Regions from separate parts of the Homo sapiens genome. Here all the other regions are linked to region 4. The links are contacts of gene promoters, found by promoter capture Hi-C in blood cells and fetal thymus (Javierre and others, 2016). All regions are on one chromosome and are shown on one strand. Each heading gives the region's core, a stretch centred on a gene start or on the middle of the fragment in contact. The rest is flanking DNA. Distances are from core to core; before and after follow the strand shown. Region 1 overlaps TARS3 (threonyl-tRNA synthetase 3). Region 2 overlaps LRRK1 (leucine rich repeat kinase 1). Region 3 overlaps LRRK1 (leucine rich repeat kinase 1). Region 4 holds the start of CHSY1 (chondroitin sulfate synthase 1). Region 5 has its middle 16 kb from the start of TM2D3. Region 6 overlaps ALDH1A3 (aldehyde dehydrogenase 1 family member A3). Region 7 has its middle 5.3 kb from the start of TARS3.

Evidence for each region. The method cuts DNA at HindIII sites, captures the fragments that hold promoters and counts their contacts. A CHiCAGO score of 5 or more calls a contact.
Region 1: a fragment that was not itself captured here is called in contact with the fragment with the promoter of CHSY1 in region 4 in 1 of 17 cell types (naive B cells); the score reaches 5.6 in naive B cells.
Region 2: a fragment that was not itself captured here is called in contact with the fragment with the promoter of CHSY1 in region 4 in 3 of 17 cell types (M0 macrophages, M2 macrophages and monocytes); the score reaches 7.0 in M0 macrophages.
Region 3: a fragment that was not itself captured here is called in contact with the fragment with the promoter of CHSY1 in region 4 in 7 of 17 cell types (naive B cells, M0 macrophages, M2 macrophages and 4 more); the score reaches 8.7 in naive B cells.
Region 5: a fragment that was not itself captured here is called in contact with the fragment with the promoter of CHSY1 in region 4 in 5 of 17 cell types (neutrophils, naive B cells, total B cells and 2 more); the score reaches 10.2 in neutrophils.
Region 6: a contact is called between a fragment that was not itself captured here and the fragment with the promoter of CHSY1 in region 4, in 5 of 17 cell types (M0 macrophages, M1 macrophages, endothelial precursors and 2 more). The highest score is 8.1, in M0 macrophages.
Region 7: a fragment that was not itself captured here is called in contact with the fragment with the promoter of CHSY1 in region 4 in 2 of 17 cell types (neutrophils and naive B cells); the score reaches 5.4 in neutrophils.

What each region holds. Positions count from the first base shown.
Region 1 is chr15:101,660,581-101,664,045 of GRCh38, forward strand. TARS3 (threonyl-tRNA synthetase 3) reads right to left here. Exons shown (of 19, transcript NM_152334.3): 16 at 1,132-1,236. Among named protein-coding and RNA genes, the nearest start is that of TM2D3, 9.9 kb to the left of the region's middle. The HindIII fragment of the contact is 290 bases long and covers 1,767-2,056 here.
Region 2 is chr15:100,949,219-100,952,724 of GRCh38, forward strand. All of the region lies in intron 2 of LRRK1 (leucine rich repeat kinase 1), which reads left to right. Among named protein-coding and RNA genes, the nearest start is that of LRRK1, 32 kb to the left of the region's middle. The HindIII fragment of the contact is 3,125 bases long and covers 486-3,506 here.
Region 3 is chr15:100,929,736-100,933,477 of GRCh38, forward strand. The region is part of intron 2 of LRRK1 (leucine rich repeat kinase 1); the gene reads left to right. Among named protein-coding and RNA genes, the nearest start is that of LRRK1, 12 kb to the left of the region's middle. RefSeq lists an enhancer at 1-536. The HindIII fragment of the contact is 4,271 bases long and covers 1-3,515 here.
Region 4 is chr15:101,249,678-101,253,377 of GRCh38, forward strand. It overlaps CHSY1 (chondroitin sulfate synthase 1), which reads right to left and starts at 2,371. Exons shown (of 3, transcript NM_014918.5): 1 at 1,460-2,371. The coding sequence starts at 1,779. RefSeq lists silencers at 1,356-1,785, 1,976-2,285, 2,456-2,835. The HindIII fragment of the contact is 7,881 bases long and covers 1,171-3,700 here.
Region 5 is chr15:101,634,214-101,637,770 of GRCh38, forward strand. It overlaps a transcript of TM2D3 not described here. Among named protein-coding and RNA genes, the nearest start is that of TM2D3, 16 kb to the right of the region's middle. The HindIII fragment of the contact is 6,033 bases long and covers 1-3,557 here.
Region 6 is chr15:100,896,918-100,900,423 of GRCh38, forward strand. ALDH1A3 (aldehyde dehydrogenase 1 family member A3) reads left to right here. Exons shown (of 13, transcript NM_000693.4): 8 at 1,166-1,268. The region is part of intron 1 of ALDH1A3-AS1 (ALDH1A3 antisense RNA 1); the gene reads right to left. Among named protein-coding and RNA genes, the nearest start is that of ALDH1A3, 19 kb to the left of the region's middle. The HindIII fragment of the contact is 5,242 bases long and covers 1-3,506 here.
Region 7 is chr15:101,728,048-101,731,503 of GRCh38, forward strand. No RefSeq gene overlaps it. Among named protein-coding and RNA genes, the nearest start is that of TARS3, 5.3 kb to the left of the region's middle. The HindIII fragment of the contact is 3,967 bases long and covers 1-3,456 here.

The DNA.
Region 1 (3,465 bases), core at 662-3,161, 410 kb after region 4:
AGAATGAGGCATTGCTCCTTACATGATGAAAGGGATCCAACGTAATCAACCTGCTACAAGACCACTGGCTATTACCCCAGGTTATGGTACCATCCCGGGGGATCACAATTAATCACTGACTGATGGCAACCTGAATTCTCAGAAGAGATGTAGCCAGATGGAACTTAGTGAGGCAAAGTCCATGTCTTTGAGCCCATGCCTATCCACCAGTGGCCACTTTGCCCATGAGCCATTGAGCAACAACTAGGGGAAAAAGCAGCTGATTTTAACAGAATGGGTCCTCTTGTATTGGAATACTGAAAAATTCCTCAACAGCGGGGGCCTTTTGGTGGCAATACCACCTCTGTTGGCCCATTCTGAGTGATCATCCACATTTCTGCTTCCCAAATCTATGTAATTTGTTTTTCAATCTAATTAGTTCTAAATCTTTGACTCTGTGGCCAAAGCAGTAACTAGAGCCTGTGCATCCATGTAACTCCTTATCTCCGGCCATTCTTCCTTCCGGGCAAAAAGGACCACAGGATGCACCACTCAAAAAGGACCACAAGATGCACCACTCAAAAAAGACCACAAGATGCACCACTCAAAATTCTGCACTTTAGGACACTTCCCTTCCCCACTGTCATCCTAAATGGGCTGTGCTGCTGAGCCATCCTCTTTGAGTTTGTGCCATTTATGAATCAGGTTTACATGTTTTCCTCCTCAGTGGCTGTAGGGAACCCCAAAGGCAAACAATATGGGTTGAAGGAAGGATGGCTGGAGGGCAAGAGGTGGTACCTAGGAGTGTGGGTCACATGTTTTCAGGACAGCAACTAGATCTCTGAAGGGCTTGAAACAGGTAAAAAGATAACTTTAATTCTACCGAGTCCCCCAAAAGGTAAATGGTACAGTTTTATGCCACTCTCCCTTAGTTTTTATTTTCTGATCTGGCAAATCGAATAAGAATTCTTTATTTGCTGTTTGGACAATTGCTAATTACAAGGCAGGAAAGGCCCTTTCTTTTGTTACTACTTTTTTCTTTTACACATGATTTTTTAAGAATAGAAATATTTTTAAAAAGGAAAAATGAGTAAATTAATAAAAATTAAAAAGAATAATAGACATATAGTTTTTCTTTTCCATATCACTTACCATTTTCCGCCATAGTTTTCTGAAAGAATGGCTATCATTCTTTCCACTGATCCCAAAATGGCTCGATGAATGATCACAGGTCTCTTCTTATCATCCCCATCCTTACTAAAAAATGAAAATTATACATTTAAGTCTTTTCCTAAGATTCAATAACTATCTTCTAGCCTTATATTTAATTTTGAGAATAGATTTAGATTAGTGATATCAGATCTCTCCATTAACCTTATTTGTTCTGTGACTGTCTTGTTTTCTCATTGCTTTCTTTGCTAATCTTTTTTCTTTTATTTTAAAAACTTTTTATTAGAGCGCACTGAAACATATACAAAAGTAGAGAGAAGAGTATAATGAACTTCCACATACCCTCTCTCAGCTTCACAAAATGTCAACTCACAGCCAATCTCATCTGATCCAAATGCACCCCCATTCTTGCCACTATCTCCCACATTATAATCTTCATTTTTAAAATGTTCCTGATATGTGTTCTTGAAGTCCACTGGTCAAATTCCCTGAAACCCTCATGAGGTGTATCTTACATTTAATTATTCCCTCTTCCCCTTAGGAAAAAAAAATGAAAAAAGCAAATGATGACTTAATTGTAATGAAGTAAGCCACTTCAAGATCTCTGCACAAGCACAAGCTTCTCAGAAAGATAAATTTCACATTATTGCAACAAATGTGACATGCGACACTTACAAAGTTCTTTTGATAAATTTTTATCTAAAAATTATACCAGCTAGCTACTACTACAATAAATGAAACAAATTTAACAAATAAATAATAAAATAAAACAAACAAAAACAGAGAAACCCATTCATTAAACCTACTTCAAATGAGTTGTAACTGGATATCATCACTGCCAACCATTTCTGCTAAGAGCCATTATAGAATAACTGCAGGCAAAACTCTCTGTCTGGACCCTACAGGAAGCTTTGGGGTAGGGGTGAGCGGCTTGAGTCCATTCCTATGCAGGTATATGAAGAAATTCATCCCAAAAATTGAAACCAGTATGAAATATTCCTGAATATCCCATCATGTTGATTTTGTGTAGGGAAGAAAGAGAAGCAAACTGATCCTTTCACAGAGCCTGGGTATCCAAAATTTCTGTCCCATCATTTCTTTGAATCATGTCTAGACTTAAGAAGAGCAAATAGTGACATAAACTATGATTACACATCTGTGCTATCAGATAAACATTGGAATGAATGCCAAATTCCCCCAAAATAACCCCAGTGGATTTGCTTACAATTATATTAGATTAATAGATAAATTTGAAGAGAATAACTTCACAATGTTGATTCTTCTCATTCCAAAGTGTGGTACGAATCTTCATTTAAATAACTCTTTTTTGTGGTCTTGGAGAAAAACTTATAGCGTATGCTTATAAATAACATCTATAGTCATGTGTTGCCTAATGACATTTTGGTCAACAATGGACTGCAGATATGATGGTGGTCCCACGAGATTATAAAGAAGCTGAAAAAAATTTTTTTTTAAATTATACTTTAAGTTCTAGGGTACATGTGCACAATGTGCAGGTTTGTTACATATGTATACATGAGCCACGCTGGTGTCCTGCACCCAAGGAAGCTGAAAAATTCCTATCATCTAGTGATCTGTGTTACAAGTACCTAGAGCATTCAGTACAGTAACATTCTGCACAGGTTTGGAGCTAGCAGCAATAGGCTATCCCATACAGCTTAAGTGTGTAGTGGCCTATGCCATCTAGGTTTGTGTAAGTACACTCCGTGATGTTCACACAACAATGATATTGCCTAACGACACATTTCTCCAAACATATCCCTGTCATGACTACATTTATGGGGATGCATGACTATATTTATATTTATTAAGTTTATTCATATTTTCTATTTTGTGGTTGCTGTTGCTTCTGAAATGTTTTTTCCATTGCATTTCCTAGCAGATTATTGCTAACATTATGAAGGCAAATTGATTTTTGCATTTTTACCTTCCATTATTATTAGTGCCCATTTCTCCATTTGATTCTGTTGGATTTCTCTATATTTTAACATCTACTAATAATAATTTTATCTCTTGCTTTCATGTATTTGTAATCCCAGAATAATTTTGAGTAACAATACAAATAGTAGTCATATTCGTCTTCTTCCCAACTGTGTTGAGATGCTATTGCTGTTTTCTGATAAAAGCTCTTTATCGTGATAAGGAAATTTCTGTTCATTTCACAGGAATGAATGTTAACTTTTATCTGATGCCTTTCTGCATGCTGAATGTAATGAATGACAACAGCACACTCTCATCCACCCCTGCTTTTTTAGGGAAAAACCCTTACTCAATCATGGTGATGACCTTGATGCT
Region 2 (3,506 bases), core at 798-3,297, 300 kb before region 4:
AAAAAAAGATTATAGGAAAATACTGTGAACAATTTGCACCAACAAATTCAATAACCTAGATGAAATAAAGTCCTAGAAAGACACAAACTATCCAAACTGACTCAAGAAGAAGTAGAAAATCTAATTACACTTAAAACAAGTAGAGAGACTGAATTAGTAATAAATAAATAAGTAATTCCCCACAAAGAAAAGCCAGGCCCAGATAGTTTCACTGGTGAATTCTACCAAACATTTAAAGAAGAGTTAACATCAACTTCACAAACTCTTCCAAACAATAAAATATGGAAGAATACTTCCCAATTCAGTCTATGAAACCAGTATTACCCTGAAGCCAAAACCAGAAAAAGATCTCACAGGAAAACTACAGACCACTACCTCTTTCAAATATAGATGCAAAATCTCAACAAGACACTAGCAAACCGAATTTAGTAACACATAAAAAGGATTATACGCCATGACCAAGTGGAATTTATCTTAGGATTCCAAGCTTGGTTTAACATCAATCAATATAATAATCCATATTAATAGAATAAAGGAGAAAAAATATATGATCATCTCAATAGACACAGAAAAGCATTTAACAAAATTCACTACCCTTTGATGAGAAACACTCAGTAAACTAGTAATAGAAGGAAACTTCCTCAATCTGATAAACTGCATCTGTTAACAAAAAAAAAACCCATAACTAACATCATACTTAATAGTGAAAGACTGACTGCTTTCTCCCTAACATCAGGAACAAAACAAGGATGTCCACTCTCACTACTTCTATTCAACATTACACTGGAGGTTCTTGCCAGGGCAAAGACAAGAAAAAGAAATGAAATCCAAATTGGAGAGGTAAAACTATATTTTCCGGTGACATCATACTGTACGTAGAATATTCTAAACAACACACAAAAGACAATTAGAACTAATAGTTCAGCAAATTTGCAGGATGCAAGATCAAAATGTAAAAATCAATTGTGGTTGTATGAATTATCACTTAACAATCTGAAAATTTAATTAAGAAAACACATTTACAATAGTATCCAAAAGAATAAAAAATTTGGGAATAAATGTAACAAAAGAAGCGTAAGATTTATACACCAAAAACTGCAAAACATTGTGGAAAGAAGTTAAAAAGAACCTGAATAAATGAAAAAACATTCTGTATTCATGGATTGGAAGACTTAATAATGGTAAGATGGCAATACTCCCCAAATTGACTTATGCATTCAATGCAGTCTCTTTAAAATCCTAGCTGAAATTCTTACAAAAATGGCAAGATGATTCTAATATTCAAATAAAATACAAGAGAATGGCTAAACCTATAAAACTCTTAAAAGAAAACAGGATTAAATCTTTATGACCTTGGATTAGGCAATAGTTTCTCAGATACTACACCAAAAACACAAGCGACAAAAGGAAAAATAGGTAGTAAGTTGGACTTCATCAGTTAAAAATTTTTGTTCTTCAATAGACATAATCAAGAAAGTGAAAAGAACCTGTGAAATGGGAGAAAATATTTCCAAATTATTTATCTTTAAAGGACTTGTATCTGATTATATAAAGAACTCTCACAATTCAGCAACAAAAAAACAACCCAATTTAAAAAAGAGCAGGCCGGGCGCGGTGGCTCGCGCCTGTCATCCCAGCACTTTGGGAGGCCAAGGCGGGCAGATCACGAGGTCAGGAGATCGAGACCATCCTGGCTAACACGGTGAAACGCCATCTCTACTAAAAATACAAAAAATTAGCCGGGCGTGGTGGCGGGCGCCTGTAGTCCCAGCTATTTGGGAGGCTGAGGCAGGAGAATGGCGTGAACCCGGGAGGCGGAGCTTGCAGGGAGCAGAGGTTGCGCCACCGCACTCCAGCCTGGGCTACAGAGTGAGACTCCGTCTCAGAAAAAAAGAGCAAAGGGTCTAAACAGACTAAATAGACATTTATCCAAAGAAGATGTGAAAATGGCCAATCAGCACATGAAAAGATGCTCAACATCATTAATCATTATGGAAATGCGAAGCAAAACCACCATGAGATACCACTTCACACCCAACAGAAAGGACAACAGAAAGACAGATGGAAAATGGCAAGCGGTAGTCAGGATATGGAGAAATTGGAGCGTTCATTCATTGAAGGTGGGACTGGAACATGCTGCAGGCAGTTTGGAAAATGGTTTGGCAGTTTCTCAACATTTTGAACATGCAATTACCATATGACCCAGCAATTCCACTCCTGAGTATATACACAAGAGAACTGAGGGCAGATATTCACAGAAAAACTTGCACATAAGTGATCACGGTAGCATTATTCCTAATAACCAAAAAGTGGAAAAACCCAAGCTCCCATCAGCTGATGAATAAATAAACAAATGTGGTCTATTCATACAGTGGAATATTACGCAGCAATAGCAAGGAAATAATAGCATTACTAGCAAGTATGAATTAATACTTAATAATTAAATAATAAGGCCGGGCATAGTGGCTCACACCTGTAATCCCAGCACTTTGGGAGGCCGAGACAGGTGGATCATCTCAGGTCAGGAGTTTGAGACCAGCCTGGCCAACATGGTGAAATCCTGTTTCTACTAAAAATACAAATATTAGCCAGGCATGGTGGCATGCGTCTGTAATCCCAGCTACTTAGGAGGCTGAGGCAGGAGAATGGCTTGAACGCGGGAGGCAGAGGTTGCAAGTGAGCTGAGATCGCACCATTGCACTCCCACTTGGGCAACAAGAGCGAAACTCCATCTCAGAAAAAAAAAAATAATAATAATAATAATAATAAAATAATAGTATTATTAAGAGTAAGTACTAATATATGCTACAACATGAATAAGTCTTGAAAACATGCTGAGTGAAAGAACTAAGTCACAAAAACCATATTGTATTATTCCACGTATATGACATGTTCAGAAGAGGCAAACTGTAGAGATAGAAAGTAGATTAGTGGTTGGCAGGGACCTGGAGGAGGAAGTGGGAACTGACTGGTATAAGCGTATATTTGCAGGGTGGTACAAATGTTTTAAAATTAGAAAGCGGTGATAGTTACACAACTCTGTGAATATATTCAAACCCACTGAATTGTACACTTTTAAATGGTGAATTTTATGATACGTGAATTATCTCTCAATAAAGCTGTGATCTTTTAAATGTGACCGATGTATCCATCTTTTATTACTTCTGGGTTGTGAGCCACAGTTAAAGGGGTTATACACTCCCAGGCTAAAAAGGAATTTGCCTGTGTTTTCTTCTAATGCCTACATCGTTTTATTTTTTTACATTATATCTCTAATTCATTTGGAATTATCTTGGTGTTTCACGGGAGTAACGGATCTGATCATATATTTTTCCATGTGGCTATCCAGTTGGACAAACACCATTGATTAGCCCACTCTTCTTTGTGGGGCCCTTCTCACAGGACCTGACTCCTGCCCTGGCCCACTCTTTCCTCTGATGGAGACAGCATTCAATCCCAGCATACCTTTCCCTGGAAATGGTATCAAATGCTTGTCAGGCTTTCAG
Region 3 (3,742 bases), core at 130-2,629, 320 kb before region 4:
ACAGGAAACAGGGCAGGCAGGGCCTTGCAGGGAAGGAGATTCCAGCCTGGCTGCAGGAGTTCACCAGCCCCTCCAGGGAGCACAGCCACGTCTGGTCAGGAATCTTTTAATGAGTGAGGAGAAGGACAGGGAAGCTGATTGGTGGCCCAGGTGGCAGGCGAGGTGGCTGTGTGCGTCCATCCATGCAGGTGGCAGTTAGCACAGCTGTGCTTCATGCTTACAAAGCAGAGGCCAGCTACAGATGCTCCAGGCCCTTGATGAGCCTTTGAACATTCGTTTTAACCTGAGGCTTAGATCTTCTCCTGGTTACTTGTCTGGAATGTGCTTGCTTACTTCTAGCAATGGGGAGCTGACTCCCTAGCAAACAACGCCAGCCTTTCTGTGGGCAGCTCTGGTAGGAAGTGGATGCTGTGGGGCTCTCTTTGCACCAGGCTTTATTCATTTAGACAGATCGGAATCCCTTAACCCATTTCTTGGAGTCACTAAAAGCAGATGTGTTGCCCTCCCTGCAGATTCCTTTTTAGGCTGAGTAAGCCATCCCACGGACAGGCCGCCGGCAACTTTACACGTTCCGCTTGGATATCCAAGAGTTTTTTGACTTCTCAGTCTGTCTGTGGGCTAATTATTAGGCCATACACACCTGGGTCCACAGGGAGAGCTGCCCCTACCTGCTTCCCCACCCTGCCGTGGACCGGCTTTCAGGAGCACCCCCACTGATCCACCCCATCCTAGGTGGCCCAAGCCTGAATGTGGTAGCTCACCAGAGCCCCAGTCCTCACCCCCTCCCTGGCCTCCCCCACCCCACACTTGCTCCTGACTTGGCCTCCTTTATGTGGGGTGTGCAGGGCAGCCCTATCTGGTGGCCTCTGTGCTTGCTAGGGAGCAGCCCAGGCTCACTTGGCATGCATTCAGCCACCAAGAGAGAAGATTTTCTTACCAGCCATCTGCCCTGGCCCCCATGAAGAGATCAGTAGCCTGAGAGCAGGGAGATGTCCATGTGGGCCTCCCCAGGCCCCTGTGCAGAGCGACAAGGATTTTCACCCCTCCTGGTTTGCCTGAGTCAGACTTTGAAGGAGCCATCACTAGGGATTTTTATGAAATTCTTTAGTTCTCTGGGAATGGAGCCCTCCCACCACTCCCAATGCCATGTAAGTCTAAACTTGAGTGTGTGAATTGCACGCACATTTTTGGAAAGTTTGATGAATGAAAATAAGAAGCTGCTATTATTCTTTGGAAGTCCCAATTCTGAGTCCCTTCACTATTCAGGCCACCCTTGGGTTCAGTTTGTCCAGATTCCACTTAGCCATCTTGCTACTTATTGGGTGACATTTGTCATAAAAAAGAAACGAGAAAACCGAACAGAAACACATATCTCAAGCAATAGAGTCCTTCCTGAGCTCATCACCCCCATGCTGCACAAAGAAGCACACATTAATCAGAACTTGTATTTTCAACTGTAAAGAACTTTTGAGGATTGCAGTTCCTTTTGCTAATGCTGCTGGGGTTGTGCCTGGCGACATCCTCTCATCCTCCATTCAACATCCAGCACCCAGGGGCCGTGGCACATTGCCAAATGTTGGCTTAAAATCACCTACCTGGTCGTTTCAGGAGAACCGAGAACAAAAATAACTTACGTGACACTTTGAACTTTTCAGTGACTCAGAGATATTTAAAGGCAGAGAACATCTTAATCGATTATTTTAAATATGAAGCCATGTTACGATGCAAATTTGAGGTTAGAAATTGAATGTAAGTGGACAGGAATGGCTCTCTGAAGTTCCTGTTAGCAGCTTAGTTTGGACTTGACACAGCCGTGTGAACTCAGAGAGGCAAGTGGGTGGTCACAGGTGGCCCACACCTGCAGGGTTAGAGATGGAAGGTTCAGGGCCTCGATCTGCTGGTGGGGCTGGCGCGGGAGGCCAGGGCAGGGCTCCTCCAGTCATTCTGCCCCCACCCCAGCTTCCAGGCAAAAATGGCTCCAGTGGGCCGTCACTCCAGTCTCTGTGCAACCTTCACCAGCACCCACGGGTTCAAAAATAAGAAGCAAGCGAAGAACCGCTGCCTGACAGTGCACTATGAGCATTCTCCTGGTGCCTGACTCCTCCCTGAAGGTTAAGAAAAAAGTTATTTATATGGAATTCCACAATTCACACAGTGGATTGACATGATAAGAGAAAGCCACAGTTATTCTTGGCCCCCTTTCCATCATGCCCATGGGTAATCACTGTTAGCTGAGTGTGTTTTCTTTTTGTTTGTTTGTTTGTTTTGAGACGGAGTTTCATTCTTGTCATTCAGGCTGGAGTGCAATGGCGCAACCTCGGCTCACTGCAACCTCCACCTCCAGGGTTCAAGCGATTCTCCTGCCTCAGCCTCCTGAGTAGCTGGGATTACAGGCACTCGCCACCACGCCCAGCAAATTTTTGTATTTTTAGTAGAGATGGTGTTTCACCATGTTGGCCGGGCTGGTCTGGAACTCCTGACCTCAAGTGATCCACTCGTCTCGGCCTCCCAAAGTGCTGAGATTACAGGCGTGAGCCACAGCACCTGGCCTGAGTGTGTTTTCTTCCTAACCTCTTCCAAAGCACATGTATGGTTATCTTTGTATATATTTCTGGTTTTACATGCATATTCAGTTGTACATACTATTGTACAACTTTTTTCCCTTGAGGATGTCTCAGAGTTCCCTCTATATGCACCACATCTGGTGTGAATCCAACCATCTTTCATCAATGTCTTATTAAAGGGTCTTTAGATTCTTTCTACCTTTTGCTTCTAAGAGTTGAATATTACTGCATATGCCCCAGCAGAATGGCGGGATCACAGAACAAGCACATTAAAAATTATCAAAGGAAGGCATACCCCTGGTTAATGAAGGCTGTCAGACAGAAGGGACTATAATATAGGAAAAGCAACAAGGCCCTGCCCCAGTGTCAACTTCCCAAAAGAGTTGTTATTTCCTGTTTCTGGTTTTAGTTCTTCAGGTAATTATCATTTCTCAATGTAAAGAAGATGCCTGCACCTCTCTATTGCTGATCCGTTGAAACAGTGCCTGTTGACTTCCTGCCATAATAAATGAATATTTCCTTCCCTTTTGCACCCCATCTATCTGCTGCTCCCTCTGCATTTCATTCTTTTGGGGCTGACTCATCCCTAGGTTACATTTGTGACTTTAAATGACATGTTCCCTTCGTGATGACGAGTGCCTGGAGACCCAGTGTTCTGTGGAGCCCTGGAGATGAGAATCACCCCCTTCCCTGCTACCTCCATCGGCCTCCCGCCTCCCACCCAGGACTCTTACTTTGCACCTTTATTTAATTGGAATGCATCAGCAAGAAAATGCCTAAGAAAGGCCTCCTGGGAGGCTCCTGCAGGAGACTCTGTGTTCCTGAGGGCATCTTTATTTTGCCCTCTCCTGCGATCTCAATTGGAATCCTCTGCCTTTGGAACCTTCTCCCTTGTCCTCTGATGTGGTGTGATTCTCACTGCCCTGTGGTGACCTGGTTTTCCCTTTCAGAAGCTTTCAGAATCTTCCCTGTGTGCTTGGTCTTCCAAAATTTTCCAACGAAAGACCTGGGTGAGGGTCCTCTTCCATTCCTGCTGCTTGGCACTGGGTGGGCCAAGCATGTATCCCTTTCATGCATGGGACATTTCTTGTATTTTCTTTGATAATATTTTTCTCTTCTGCTTTCGCTATAGTTTTGTTTTGTTTGTTTTTCTGGAACTCCTATTAATTAAGATACAG
Region 4 (3,700 bases), core at 1,121-3,620:
TAATTTTTGTACTCTTGAGTAGAGACGGGGTTTCACCATATTGGTCAGGCTGGTGTCGAACTCCTGACCTCAGGCGATCCGCCCGCCTCGGCCTCCCAAAGTGCTAGAATTACAGGCGTGAGCCACGGCGCCCCGCCTGCATTAGTCTGTATTTACAATACCTGCATTCTAAGCTTTTCAAGCCACTCAGGACCCTTCCTGGCGGAATGTGGGTTCTGGACTTAAGCAGGACCCTAATGGAAATGTGCAGGAATGGGGATCAAGCCATTCAAGGGGCAGTCACTGAAGACCACTTTCACCTTCTTTCTCAGTCCTTTACTTTCTCCCTTAAAGGCAAGGGAGACCATATATGCTTTTCCCCTCACAACATCTAGTGCCTGAAAAATCTGACCAAGACTGCATTTAAAAACTGAAGTGTAAAGGTATTGGTTATAAGAACAAACAGCAACCAGCTTAGCCTGGCTCAGCACTGGCTGCTCTGAAATTTCATTACCAGACAACTGATGCTCTAAAACCATTCCCCACATTGGTTTGCTCTGTGGCTGGATAAGACCCAAACTTTATCCATACAGTAAGTGTCTCTATACTTCACACATATAGGGTTTCCATCAAATCCCTTTATCGAGTCTACAACCCTCTCCAACTTCAAATTCACTCCAATACAAATCTGATTCTAACCATGCCAGCCATTCCAAAATCATCTCCCTTCTAGAGACTACATTGGCTAATCCCTTTGTTAAACCTGAACACAATTCCAGCTGCTTTTATGACTCATTTGGCCAACTAGAGCCCAGTTACTGGATAACATGCATACACCACCAAGCTGAACTAATTAACACCAGAATGCAGTTTTCCACTGAATCTACCAAGGGCCAAGAACTGCTTTTCCCCAAGGTTCTCTCTCTCTGTACTCAACAGACTGGTGTGGTCCAATATGCTGCGGGCATTCTCTTTCATTTATAGGAGTGCCTCCAACTGCGAAATGTGAGAGTATGATGTGGAAAGGTTCTAGAACTAGATTAACGTACACGGGCTCCAGCTTTGCAAGGACAAAGGTGCACATTTTAGGGAATCCAGTATCAGCCCCAACTGCCTCCACTATCAGGTACTGTGCTATGAGTTTTCCAACATTATGAGGGAGACCCGATCTGTCGGGCCCTTCTAACGAGAAGCTTCGATTTGCAAAGGCTAAAGTGCCTTCATCAGGGTGAGAGGTACACCCAGCGAGGCCACACTAGTCCATCTGACCCCAAAGGCCATGTTCCTGAGCGCCGCGCTCACCATCCCGCCTCTGATCTTTTCTCCCTCGGCCCGGCGTCTCCCGAGAGGCAACCCGATCCCGCCGGAAGCCCAAGAAGGGCCTAGGAAGCGGGCGGAGGCGAGAGCCAGGAGAGCACCCGGGATGCCGGCCGCCGGGATGCCGGACGCAGGAGGCGGTGCCCGGGGAGCAGGGGCTCACCTGTAGGCGGCCACGGCCCGAGTCTGCAGGTATTTCTGGGCGGTCATGACTCCCACGAAGAGAAAGTTCCTGTCGCGCGGGCCGCCATCTGGGTCCGAGCCGGGCGGCCAGAGCTGCGCCCCGCGCGCATCGCCGCGCGCCCCGCCGGCCTGGGAAGCCGCCGCCTGCCCGGACCGGCAGCCCTCGGGGCTGGCGCGGCGCCGTGGGCCCGCTCGCTTCAGCTCGGAAGCCCGGGGCAGGACGAGCCGCGAGGCCAGCACGAAGCCCAGGACGAGCCCGAGCAGCACGCTGAGCCAGGCGCGCCGGCCGCGCGCGGCCATGCCCGCGCCGCTCCGCCCGCCGGGCCGCCGCCGCAGGCTCCGCGCGCCCTCAGCCCGCTGCCCCCGCCCGCGGAGGCCAGCCCGCCCTAGCGCCGCGAGGCCCGGCCCGGGCAGCGCCGCCGCCGCCGCGGGCCCGCCGCGCCCATCGCGGCCCCCGAGCCGCCCGCAGGCCCCGCGCCGGCGCTTTGTTCCGCACGCCCGCCCCCGCCGCCGCGGCCTGCGCCTTTAAGAGGGGACCATGCCCGGCGCGCGCTAGCGGCGGCTCGGGCGCGAGGTGGCGGCGGCTCCTCCCGCTCGCGCGCGGGGACGCGGGGCCGGCACGACGGCGACGACGGCGGCGGCAGACGAGTCCGGGCTCCCGTCCCGCCCTGCCCGCGTCCTCCGGCTGGCTGGGCTCGGTTCGCACGGCGCCTGTCCCCGTCCTCTTCGTAGCCGGCGCCGCCGCCGCAGCTGCACATCCTCCGGCTTAGCTCGCCATTGCAACAGGAGCCCCTCACGTCACGCACGGCGCGTTATGAAGTGGCCCCGCCGGCGGCGAGCCGTGGCCCCTCTCGGGATCCGTCCGCGCCGCGCGATTGGCGCAAAAGTGAATGAGGGGCGGTTCACGTGGCCGAAGTTTGACCAAAAAAAAAAAAAGCCCTCTCGGGCGCCCCGCCCGCGCGGTCTGCGACTGGAGCTGGCGGGCGGAGGGGGCGTGGGCCCCCGCCCGGCGCCCGCGGGGCCGGAGCTGCCCGTGATCCGCACCTAGCACCCGGCGCAAGGGCGTCCCCGCGAGGACGGCCGCTTCCCGCACCGCGGCGCCCGGGCGCGAATCTCGGGAGCCAGCCTTGCAGTGGGGGCTTCTCGGCCCCCAGACTCCACGCTGCGCACGTTCCTCCCGCACGGGCCGTCCTCGCTGCACCCCACGGCCACGCCCTTCCTGCCGCCGGGCCGGCCCCGCGCTCCCGGCCCCGCGCTCCCGACCACACTGCAGCTTTGTCCGCAGTCCCGCGGCCGCACGCAGGGAACAGCCGTCCCGGAGCCCTGGGGACGTGCGCGCCTGCGAGTGGACCGTGAATTCAGTTACCTTGTTCCCTGTTGCTAGTTTCTACGCTAAATAAGAAGAAGAAGAAGAAAAAGCCATCTTTAATACTTAAGGTCCACGCTTCTCATACAGTACTAGCATTTAATGGATCTCGAAGACAAGGAAAATGAAGTTAATGCCCTGGATGGTAAACCCTACTTTCATTTACATACTGTGTGGGCAGATAGCCGGCTAGTACCCCCAGCCTGGGACTTTGTCCCTACTTTAATATAGTCCGTCTGTAAAAGTGCCGTGGATTTCTAAAGACGGATTTTGGGTCCCAGATCCTCTACTCTGGATTTTAAGTTTTATACATTTCCTCTGCAATACTTCAGCTAAGGCAGCAAAAGCGGAGGTCTCCATACAACGAAAGTTTGTGTAGAGTTTCAGTCTTGTTACTTAGTCACCAGTATATTGGGGTTTTCTAATGAAACTTTTGAAGGGCAAAGTGTTTCCCTGGGCCTGAGAAGTTACCTGCATTGAATCAAATAAACACATGCCTGGGGCAATCCTTGGATCTTTCTTCATTGTTGACCAAATGGTTGAAATACTATCACACAGTTTAAAATGCCTGTGGGAGCTTCAGATACCTTCTCGGCACCTGAATGGTGGTCACTCTTGTTTATTCTTTGGATATTACCACTTTCTTTGACACTTGTGATTTATATTAAAAATAGTTCATTACCTACCTTCCCACAGAGCCCCTCCCTAAGGGGTGATCCACATCTAAAAATAAAATACTCATTATGCAGTGAATACAGGATTCCAGCAGTGGTCTTGGGAAAAATACAGAACATACAACCATGAATTACAGGCTCGAAAACCATCGAAAAAGGTTTCCACTAAGACCATAAACCA
Region 5 (3,557 bases), core at 854-3,353, 380 kb after region 4:
ACTTGAGGCCAGGAGTTCAAGACCAGCCTGGCTAACATGGCAAAACACCGTCTCTACTAAAAATACAAAAATTAGCCAGGTGTGGTGGTGCATGCCTGTAATCCCAGCTACTCAGGAGGCTGAGGCAGGAGAATTGCTTGAGCCTGGGAGGTGGAGGTTGCAGTGAGCCGAGATCGCAGCACTGCACTCCAGCCTGGGCGACAGAGCAAGACTCCATCTCAAACAAACAAACAAACAAACAAAAAACTGAAAAGAGAAATACAGAAAGCCACCATTAGAGTTGGAGACTGCAACATTTCTCTGTCAGTAATTGACAGAATAAGAACACGGAATATTGGCAAAGATAGAAAAATGCTGAAAAATACTATCAAGCAAATTGACCTAATCGTCACTGATAAAACACATGACCTGGACCAGTGGAATACACATTATTTTCAAGTGCACATGTAACATTCAGCATGATAGACCGTATGTGAGCCATAAAGCAAATCAACAAATTTAAAATAACTAAAATAATACAAATTTTATTCTCTTACCACAGTGAAAACCAGCTACAAACTAAGTACAAAAATATATCTTGAAAATGTCTTTGAGGACATTTTTAAGACCAATAACTCATTTAAACAATTATCTTTAAATGCTTTATTTAAAAATTATCTTTTGGGCCAGGTGCAGTGGCTTATGCCTGTAATCCCAGCAGTTTGGGAGGCCAAGGCAGGAGGCTCACTTGAGCCCAAGGGTTCAAGACAAGCCTGGGCAACATAGTGGGACCCTACCTCTAGAAAAAAATTTAAAAATTAGCCCACCATGGTGATGCAGACCTGTGGTCCCAGCTACCCGGGAGGCTAAGGTGGGAGAATCTCTTGAGCCTGGGAGGTGGAGATTGCAGTGAACTGAGATCGTGCCTCTGCACTCCAGCTTGGGTGACAGAGCAAGACCCTGTCTCAATAATAATAATATAAATCTTTTGACCAAAAGGAATTCAAAAGTGAAATTATAAAATATTTTAAATTATACATAATAGAATTTGTGAAATGTTCTCAAAGTTCAGACGGAAATTTATAGCATTACTTATAATACTTATATTAGAAAAGGAGAAATGTCTCAAATTAGTGACCCAAGCATCTACCTTAAGAAACTAGGGAGAAAAAAGGAATACTGTTTGCAATCTGTGAGCATTTTTTATATTTAGTGATTAAAATCACAGCCTGGCTACTATCAGGGCCATTTTCCACTTTCTCAGCATGAACTCACTTTTGGTGCCACATTTCTTTTACTGTGAAATAAATTCTTTGATCAGAAGCAATCTTGTGTGAAACAGTGAATAAAGCTAGAGAAGGCGAATCCGTGTTCAAAGTAAGCATCTATTCCAGTGTGGACAAATCAACGTTCCCTGCTTGATGGGGAGGGGCGGGGGTTCAGTGGAATCATCTCTTTGTGCTTATATTTTTGTGCACAAGAATATGACATGCTTCATGAAAGGAAGAACTTAGCTTAGTGCTAAATCCCCAGGGCTCAGGAGGGTGCATGCCACATAGGGGCTCAGTACTTTCGCTGAATGAAGAAATACGCTTAAGTGTTCTATAGTACAGAGTTTTCGCAGGGGCTTTTCCTGTGTTTCTTGGATTATATTTTCCTCAAGATGAACTCTTCATCTTTCTTTCGCAGACTGTGTTTCTTCCTGTCTTTCCTTTCATCTGGGTTCTCTCGTTCCCCTTCTATCATATGTATGTGTGGTTACTGAGCCGTTTCTTTTTTTTTAAGACCGCTTTATTAAGAAGTAATTTATATGCTGTAAAGGTTACCAGCTTAAAGTGTAACTGGCTTTCTTCCCTTAGCACCGTGTTTTTGAGGTTTATTCACCTTATGGTGTGTATCAGTACTTCATTCCTTTATGTGATGAAATAGTATTCCATTATATGAATGAACTACATTTTGTTTATGTATTATTCATCAGTGGGACATTTGGGTTGTTTCCACTTTTTTACTATGAATAATGGTGCTGTAAACGAGTTTTTTAGTGTATGTCCTAAAACCTAAAATAACAATAGACAGATAGGCTCTCCAAAGGAGTTTATCTGGGATTGGTGGGGGATTGCAATCCAAGATACCCATGCCACAATGAACCAAGAAACACCCAAAGATGCTGGGGTCAAGGCAAACTTTTATAAAGACAAAAAGGAGAAAGTCATGTAAGCTGGTTTGAAACAAAAACTCTTGACTGTTGAAGCTCATAGCTCCTCATTGGTCACGCTGGCTGTTGCTGGGGAGATGTCTTCACAGCAGCAGCTTAACATGGAGTGTTTATGGTTTCCAGGGAGTCCTTGTAATAGTTCTTATCATAGGTACATGTGCGTGAGTACTCCTCCTTCAGGGCCTCCCGGATTCATTTTGCTAGGGTTTGACCTAAGTGACCCCATTTTGGTGCTGACAACTTTCACAACATATCTCCACTTCTCTTGGGTGTATACCTAGAAGATTCCCCAAGTCACATGGTAACTCTATGTTTAACATTTTCACAAATTGCCAGACTGTTTTCCTGGGCAGCTACATCACTTTACATCCCCACCAGCAATATATGAAGGTTCCAATTTCTCCACATTCTCATCAATACTTGTTATTGTGTTTTCTTTTTCTTTTATTTTTTAGAGACAGTGTCTCGCTCTGTGGCTCAGGCTGGAGTGCAGTGGTGTGGTCACAGTGTCGATGAAGAGTCCAACTCTGTAAAATATTTGAAGAGATTTATTCCGAACCAAATATGAGTGAGGCACAGTATCAAGAGGTCCTAAGAACATGTGCCCGGTGTGGTCCGGCTACAGCTTGAATTTATACATTTTAGGGAGACATAAGACACCAGTCAATACATGTAAGATGCAGACTGGTTCCATCTGGAAAGGCAGGACAGCTCGAAGCAGGGGCTTCCAGATCATGGGTAGATTCAAGGATTTTCTAATTGGCAATTGGTTGAAAGTGTTATTGTCTAAAGACCTCTAATCAACAGAGGGGAGTGTCTGGGTTATGATAAGGGATTGTGGAGACCAAGGTTCTTATCATGCAGATGAAGCCTCCAGATTGCGAGCTTCAGAGAGAATAGATTGGAAATGTTTCTTAGACTGAAAAAGGTGCCAGATTTGTGACTGATTCTCTGCTGTGTCAGGGAAAAGACCTGAAAGGGAAGGGGATTCTTTGCAGAATGTAGATTTTTCCAAGAGACAGCTATGCGGGGCCATTTCAAGATATGGCAAAGAAACATATTTGGGGTTAAAATATTTTGATTTATCTGTCATGTGATGTTATGCCAGAGTCAGGTTGGAAAGTAAGCCACATCACATAGGGTTAAATAAAACTGCTTTGAGATTTTATAAGGTGCAACTCCCCAGCCCCTTAGATAGGAATTTGGGCAAGAGGGAAAAAAGGTCAGAGTTTAGTCCTCAGTAGCTAACTGTAACTCCACCTCCTGGGCTCAAAGATCGCTCCCACCTCAGCTTCCCAAGTAGCTGGGACCACAGGCGCACACCTGCTTATTTTTATTTATTTTTTTTAGAGACAGGCGTAAC
Region 6 (3,506 bases), core at 940-3,439, 350 kb before region 4:
AAGGATTCCCAAGAAATCCTTACTGATGGCCACCTATGGGGTGGGCTCGGGGCAGAGCCGGAGGGAAGCTGAAGGCTTTCTCCCTGTAATTCACATACATCTCTATGTGGAATTACTTTTAATGAGAAAGTATTTCTTCTGTACTTAAAAAAGAAAAAAACACCCGCTGCAATCAGTGTCCCCATCCCCCTCCTTAGTTAGTCCAAGCCCTGGTGGATGCTGTTACTCTCCTTGGAGACAGACACTGCCCTGTGGATGGATTCCAGACCTCATTCAGCCATCACCCATGAGCTTGCTGATGTTTAAAATGCGCTCACACCTTAGCATTGGAGAAAACAGTCTCAGACCCGGAAGAGCCTGGGCCGCGCCTTGCTAGCTTCTGGCTCTAGGCCTCCGTGTCTGCACTGGTCTCTGAGGATCTTCCCAGCTCTGAAGTTCGTGGTGCTGGGCTTTACTTGTTGCCCTAGATAAGTCACCGAGTCATGCTGGGCCAGCCCTCCCCTCCAGGGGTACAGTGGGCAATGGGAGAGACCCCGTGGGGGCCTTGAGCATGACTGGTGAGTGGCTTTTCTGCTCATAGCGCACCCCTTCACTCCCTGCCTGTCTGCGGCAGCCTCAGTCTTAGAGTGTGTTTCCAGAGAATCGGCTCCTTCTCATCCGGAAGGCTGGCTGCCCTCGCTACTTCTCTAACACTTGGAGGTTCCCTCAGATCACACCAAAGAGCCACACAGAACCACCCCCCTACTGGGCTGTTGGAATTTCAGCTGTTTCTAGTGAGAGGTAGAAGAGTCACCCTGCGGTCCCTGAAGCCCTTTACCAGACTGGCTGGACCAGCCTGCTGGGCTCAGAAGGACAGGCACCAGGACAGGTTAGCGGGTGGCAGCCCTGTTCCCAGCCAGCTGTGTGGGCTTCCAGAGGCTCTAACTCACACCTGTAAGTGGAGCGGCTTAGACCAAGGATCCCAGGATGTCATGGTCTGGCATGGGAGGAGATGCTGGCAGAGGCCAGGACAGTGAAGGGACGGCATCGGGGCCTGGAGCGCCTGGGCCGAGAGCCAGGTGGTGGCACTGCCACCCGGGCTTGATCAGAATGTTCACTGATGTTTACGCCTGGGCCAAGTTCAGCAACATCCAAGGTAAATTGTGATCTGTGTTCTGTCCTGGAGGTTGGAAAACTGGTTAAAGAAGCTGCGTCCCGGAGCAATCTGAAGCGGGTGACGCTGGAGCTGGGGGGGAAGAACCCCTGCATCGTGTGTGCGGACGCTGACTGTGAGTCTCTGCCCTCCTGGGCTTTGCTGGGGCTTCAGGGCATCCATCTGTCTCCCCCTACTTCCTGGCCTGAATTCAAAACCAACTGAGAGTAAGATGTGTGCACACACAGTGGGGACGCTTCCACCGTGGGCATCCTGCCCACAGTCAGCCAGCCGCAGACAGGCAGGTGGACATCAAAATGCCAGCTTTACTTCTAGCAGAAAGCTGCCTTCTACTGCCAAAACGATATGGCTTGAGTGGCACCTGAGAGGCTGCCTGTTTCTGCGCCTTAGCGTTAAGTTTACCTGCCTGTTCCTGCAGAGCTGGGGTCACGAGGAGCAGGTCTGGCTTCTCCTCCAGAGCCCCCTGGGAGGAGTGGGGAGGGCAGGTGCTGCCCACTCCCAGTCATTCATTCTCCCCTCCAAGTCACATTTCCTATCATATGTTTTAAGATCCCTGAAGAGTGGAGGTGCTCTTTCCTTGTGTCTCAGACCTGATAAATCAGAGGAGGGCAGTAGCAACTGATCCTTCAAATTACCCGCTTTGCCTGGTTCTAGGCCTGCACCCCTGCCCTGGGAAAGCAACCTGCCCAGCAGTTTGGGGATAGCTTGCGTCTTGACAGCCAAACGACACAGCGTTAAAATATATGCTATTGTTGGCTGCCATGTCCACAAGAGGGAAGGAAGGGCTGGCCGGGCATTCATTCACCTGCTGACAGGGTCAGCTATCAAAAGGTGTGACTTCCCAAGTGCCTTGAAACACCTTTGCCTTAAAGAATAGCCTCCCAGACCTGTCCACGGGTGCCAGAAATTCCTGTCGTGGAGAACAAAGCCTTTCACTTCACACTCAGATAAGGTTGGAATTGCAAATATCCCCAAGAAAAATGACCCTGGCACAATTTCTTACTAAGGTGTAAATGACTGATATCAGTTCCTTTCTGGCAGCTGGCTTTCACAATGGGAGAAAGGACAGGAGGAGGATACAGGCTCTCAGGAAGGAAAGGGGAGCTGGGTGTGAAGATGGACTTTCCATTTCTTGCCTGGGTCAGTGTTCCCTTGTGGAAGCACCATTAGTGCTATGAATAGCAAGTGGTTTTTGGAGCCACACGGAGCATTTCTGGCACTGTGACTCACATTTGGAGTCCCAAACAGCCAGGACTCCTGTTTTGCTTTCCTGTGCCACCGTATCTGGATACGCCACCTGCACTGAAGTTCATCTTCCTCCTCTTGGGGAGGAAAACTGCAGCTAAAGCACAGGACTAATTGTGTTTGGGGCTTGGTTTTACTTACGAGGGTCATAAAAACATGCTGTGTAGCCACCTCCTTCTCCTCATCAGGGCGGTGCCAGTCCACAAATTACATCCTGACATAACCAGCATCCCAGGCAAGACATCAAGGGTAACAAGCCACCATTCCCCTGCCCCTTCGCCTCACCCCTAGCTCCGTCAGGAGCAGGAAATGAGTCTGTTATCTCGGAGGAGGGGCAGTTCCAAGTTGGGACCTGGCCCAGCCAGCTGCAGGGGTCAAGGGTGCAGAGAGGTACCCCCAAACCTTATGGTGCTGTCCTGCTGCCACTGAAACTTCCACAAATGACTCAGCTAGATAGGAGCAGCCTCCTTCTCAAAGCCAAGGGCACAGTCCCTTGGAGCAGCCCCTGTGGAATTGGAACGGATCACCTTCCAATGCCCAGAGCCACTGCCAGCCTCTATGCAAAGGAAAGCTGCATTTCTTAAGAAAGCAATAGTGCGGGGGTTGGTGGTGATGAAACCAGCCAACGGTTGAACACTAGAAACCCCTCTGTAGATGTAAATGACATCCCAATACCATTCTTATCCACTAAGCGTGTCCCCCAAGATCTTATTCTCTAAATACCCTCTGGCTTGGTTTGAATAACTGGTTTTAGTTCAATGTCAGCTCTGCAACTTAGTCAGCCCTTCTAAGTCACACACATGATATTATCTTACTTAATAAGACCCTTCTTTTACTCAAGGTGGAACATTTTGGCTTCTTTAGAAGTTCTCGCCAGGGGGCCTACATCAATAATTACCGAAGTTTATTCTATAAAACATTAGTCCTCTAGAAAAAGGGGAGGGGAGGGGAGTCCTCTAGAAAAAGGCAAGTGAAATGGAGGGTGCTATGACTCTCTGGACTTATTAGCATATTAAAGGTACTGAGAAGTCCTGCAGTCAGGGAATTGATTTAACCCCAAACTTGGTGGACCCCAAAATCCTTTCTCCCTTCCTCTCTATTTGGGAAA
Region 7 (3,456 bases), core at 520-3,019, 480 kb after region 4:
TACACAGTGCACATTTACATTTGAACTTCAGATAAACAAAAAATAATGTTTATATAAATATGTCCCATGCAATATTTGAGACATATACTAAAAAATTATTCAAGCCAAAAAGCATTAAATAAGACAAAGAAGGACATTTTGTAATGTTAAGTGCCACATTCCACAATGAAAATATAGCAATTATGAATATCTATACACCTGTAATTTGAAAAAAACTACAGGAAACTAAAGGAGAAAGAGAAACACACTAATAAGAGGAAAATAACAAGGCTGGGTGTGGTGGCTCATGCCTGTAATCCCAGCACTTTGGGATGCCGAGGTGGGCAGATCACCTGAGGTCAGAAGTTCGAGACCAGCCTGACCAACATAGAGAAGTCCCATCTCTACTAAAAGTACAAAAAATTAGCTGGGTGTGGTGGCGCATGCCTGTAATCCCAGCTACTTGGGAGGCTGAGGCAGGAGAATTGCTGGAACCTAGGAGGTGGAGTTTGTGGTGAGCTGAGATCATGCCATCGCACTCCAGCTTGGGCAACAACAGCAAAACTCCATCTCAAAAAAAAAAAAAAAAAGGAAAATAACAAACCACTCTCTGAGTACATTCAAGTGCCCCCACAAAAAAGTAAGGATGTAAAAGACCCAAACAATATAATTAAAAAGTAGATATTTTGAATATATTCACATTATCAATATGTATATATAAATATCTATCTATATAAACTATACCCTGAAAATGGAAGATGCACCTTCCTCTTAAACAAATGTATAGATTCTTCATATAAATTAATCATTTGTAGAGCTCAAGAAAGACCTCAGTAGGTTTCATAAAGTAGAAATATTAGGTACAACACTCTCAGCCCCCAATGCAATAAAATTAGAAATTAAAAATAAAACAACAACAAAAAGCCTTTTCACATGGAAATTTTAAAACTCTTAAGCATCTCTTTATTGAAAGGAGAAATGAAAAAGGAAAGTACAGACTTTCTTTAAAATAGTGATAATGAAAATACTACAAATCTATGCAATACACAGATCAGTAATCAGAAAAAAATCATAACTCTAACACCTATATTGATAAAAACAAAAGAATGGAAATAAATTCTCAATTGAAAAATTGAGAAAAATGACAGCAAAATAAAGCAATGACAAAGTTCTAATAACACTAAATATACATTTCTTTTTCAACCCAGCAATCCCACTTCTAGAAATTTATTCTGAAGATACAAGAAGGCAAAAATGCATATGCACACAAATTCAACGGAAGAGTTGTGATTGTAAAGTACCTCATAGGAGATTGGTTCAATAAGCTATAGTACACACAAAAAATGGAGCACTATGAAGCTGTTAAAAAAATAATTAAGAGGATCTCTGAACTGATATGGAACGATTTCCAGGAGATTTTATGAAGCAAAAAAAGTAATGTTCAGGCTGGGCACAGTGGCTCACGCAAGTAATCCCAGCACTTTGAGAGGCCAAGGCAGGCAGATCACAAGGTCAAGAGATTGGGACCATCCTGGCCAACATGGTGAAACCCTGTCTCTGCTAAAAATACAAAAATTAGCTGGGCGTGGTGGTGCACGCCTATAGTCCCAGCTATGCAGGAGACTGAGGCAGGAGAATCTCTTGAACCAGGGAGGTGGAGGTTGGAGTGAGCCAAGATCACGCCACTGCACTCCAGCCTGGCAACAGAGTAAGACTCCGTCAAAACAAACAAACAAACAAAAAAAAAACAGTAATGTACACATGTAGTATGTTACATGTTGTATAAGAAAAAAGAGAAAATGAAAACATGCATATATCTGCTTATCATCACAAAAAGAAACAGAAAATAAACTAGAAAACAATGAATTTGGTTATCTACAAGTAGATAACCAAGAGATAAAGGTCCCGACCTCTAATACCTTTCCTCATTAAAGGGTTCCTGGCAGAAAGGCCTATTCCAGAGCTGGGACATTGACTTAGTCCATTTATGTTGCTACAAGGAAATACCTGAGGCTGGATAATTTACAAAGAAAAGAGGTATATTTGGCTCACACTTCTGCAGGCTGTACAAGAAGCATGGTGCCAGCATCTGCATCTGGTGAGGGTTTCAGGAATCTTCCACTCATGGCAGAAGGCAAAGGGGAGCCCACATGTACAAAAGTCACATGACAGGAAAGCAGAAGCAAGAGAGAGGGGAGAGATGTGAGGCTCTTTTAAATAATTAGTTCTCACAGGTGCTAAGAGTGAGGACTCAATCATTACTGTGAGGACAGCACCAAGCCATTCATAAGGCATCTGTCGAGGACGGCACCAAGCCATTCATAAGGGATCTGTCGAGGATGGCACCAAGCCATTCATAAGGGATCTGTCCAGGACGGCACCAAGCCATTCATAAGGGATCTGTCCAGGACGGCACCAAGCCATTCATAAGGGATCTGTCCAGGACGGCACCAAGCCATTCATAAGGGATCTGTCCAGGACGGCACCAAGCCATTCATAAGGGATCTGTCCAGGACGGCACCAAGCCATTCATAAGGGATCTGTCGAGGACGGCACCAAGCCATTCATAAGGGATCTGTCGAGGACGGCACCAAGCCATTCATAAGGGATCTGTCCTCATGAACCAGACACCTCCCACTAGGCCCCACCTGCAACACTGGGGGTGAAATTTCAACATGAGACTTGGAGGGGACAGATATCCAAATGATATCAGACATGTAAGTTCAAGATAAGCGTAGAGCACTTTGTTTTGCTGGAAATTAACAAAGCGCTCTCCACAAAAATGATGGGAACATGATACAAGGGCACAGGAACCAGCTTGAAGGGATCCCACCAGCCAAACCAATTGAACTTCAAAAATAATTAAGTAATGAATTGTAAACCATTAAAAAATATGGGAACTCACAAGTCCAACCAATAATAGAAAAAAATGGGAAAGAAGCCAGAGCTCAGTTTATAGTCTATGCCATGGACTAAATGGCAAACACAGGTAAATGGGAAATTAGAAAACCATCACTTTGCCACCTTCATAGTAAGGACTGGATCAGACAAGAATCATCATGCTCAATCTAGGGGGCAGTGCTGAAAAGCAGCAGGATACTGGCATGGACATAAAATGTTCCCCCACAGGCTGTTAACCAGTTGCAAGGGAGAAAACAAAAAGTAATTATACAATGGAGAAATCAGGCAATATCTTGATCAGGTGATCAAAATGAACATCACCTATGAGGAACAGGTGGACTTTATGTACCTCCAGATGTGATATTCTAAAGAAGGTATAACACCCCTGTACAGAATTTATACCAAGAATACATAACCCCAATCTAATCACAAGGAAACAGCACATAAACACAAAATGAGGAACGTTTGTTTTTAACGGTGGAGGGGAGAAACTGAATTCTTCAAAAATGTTTATATAATGAAAGACAAAATCTGGAATGCTCCAGATTAAATGGTACTAAAGTCATGATGATTAAA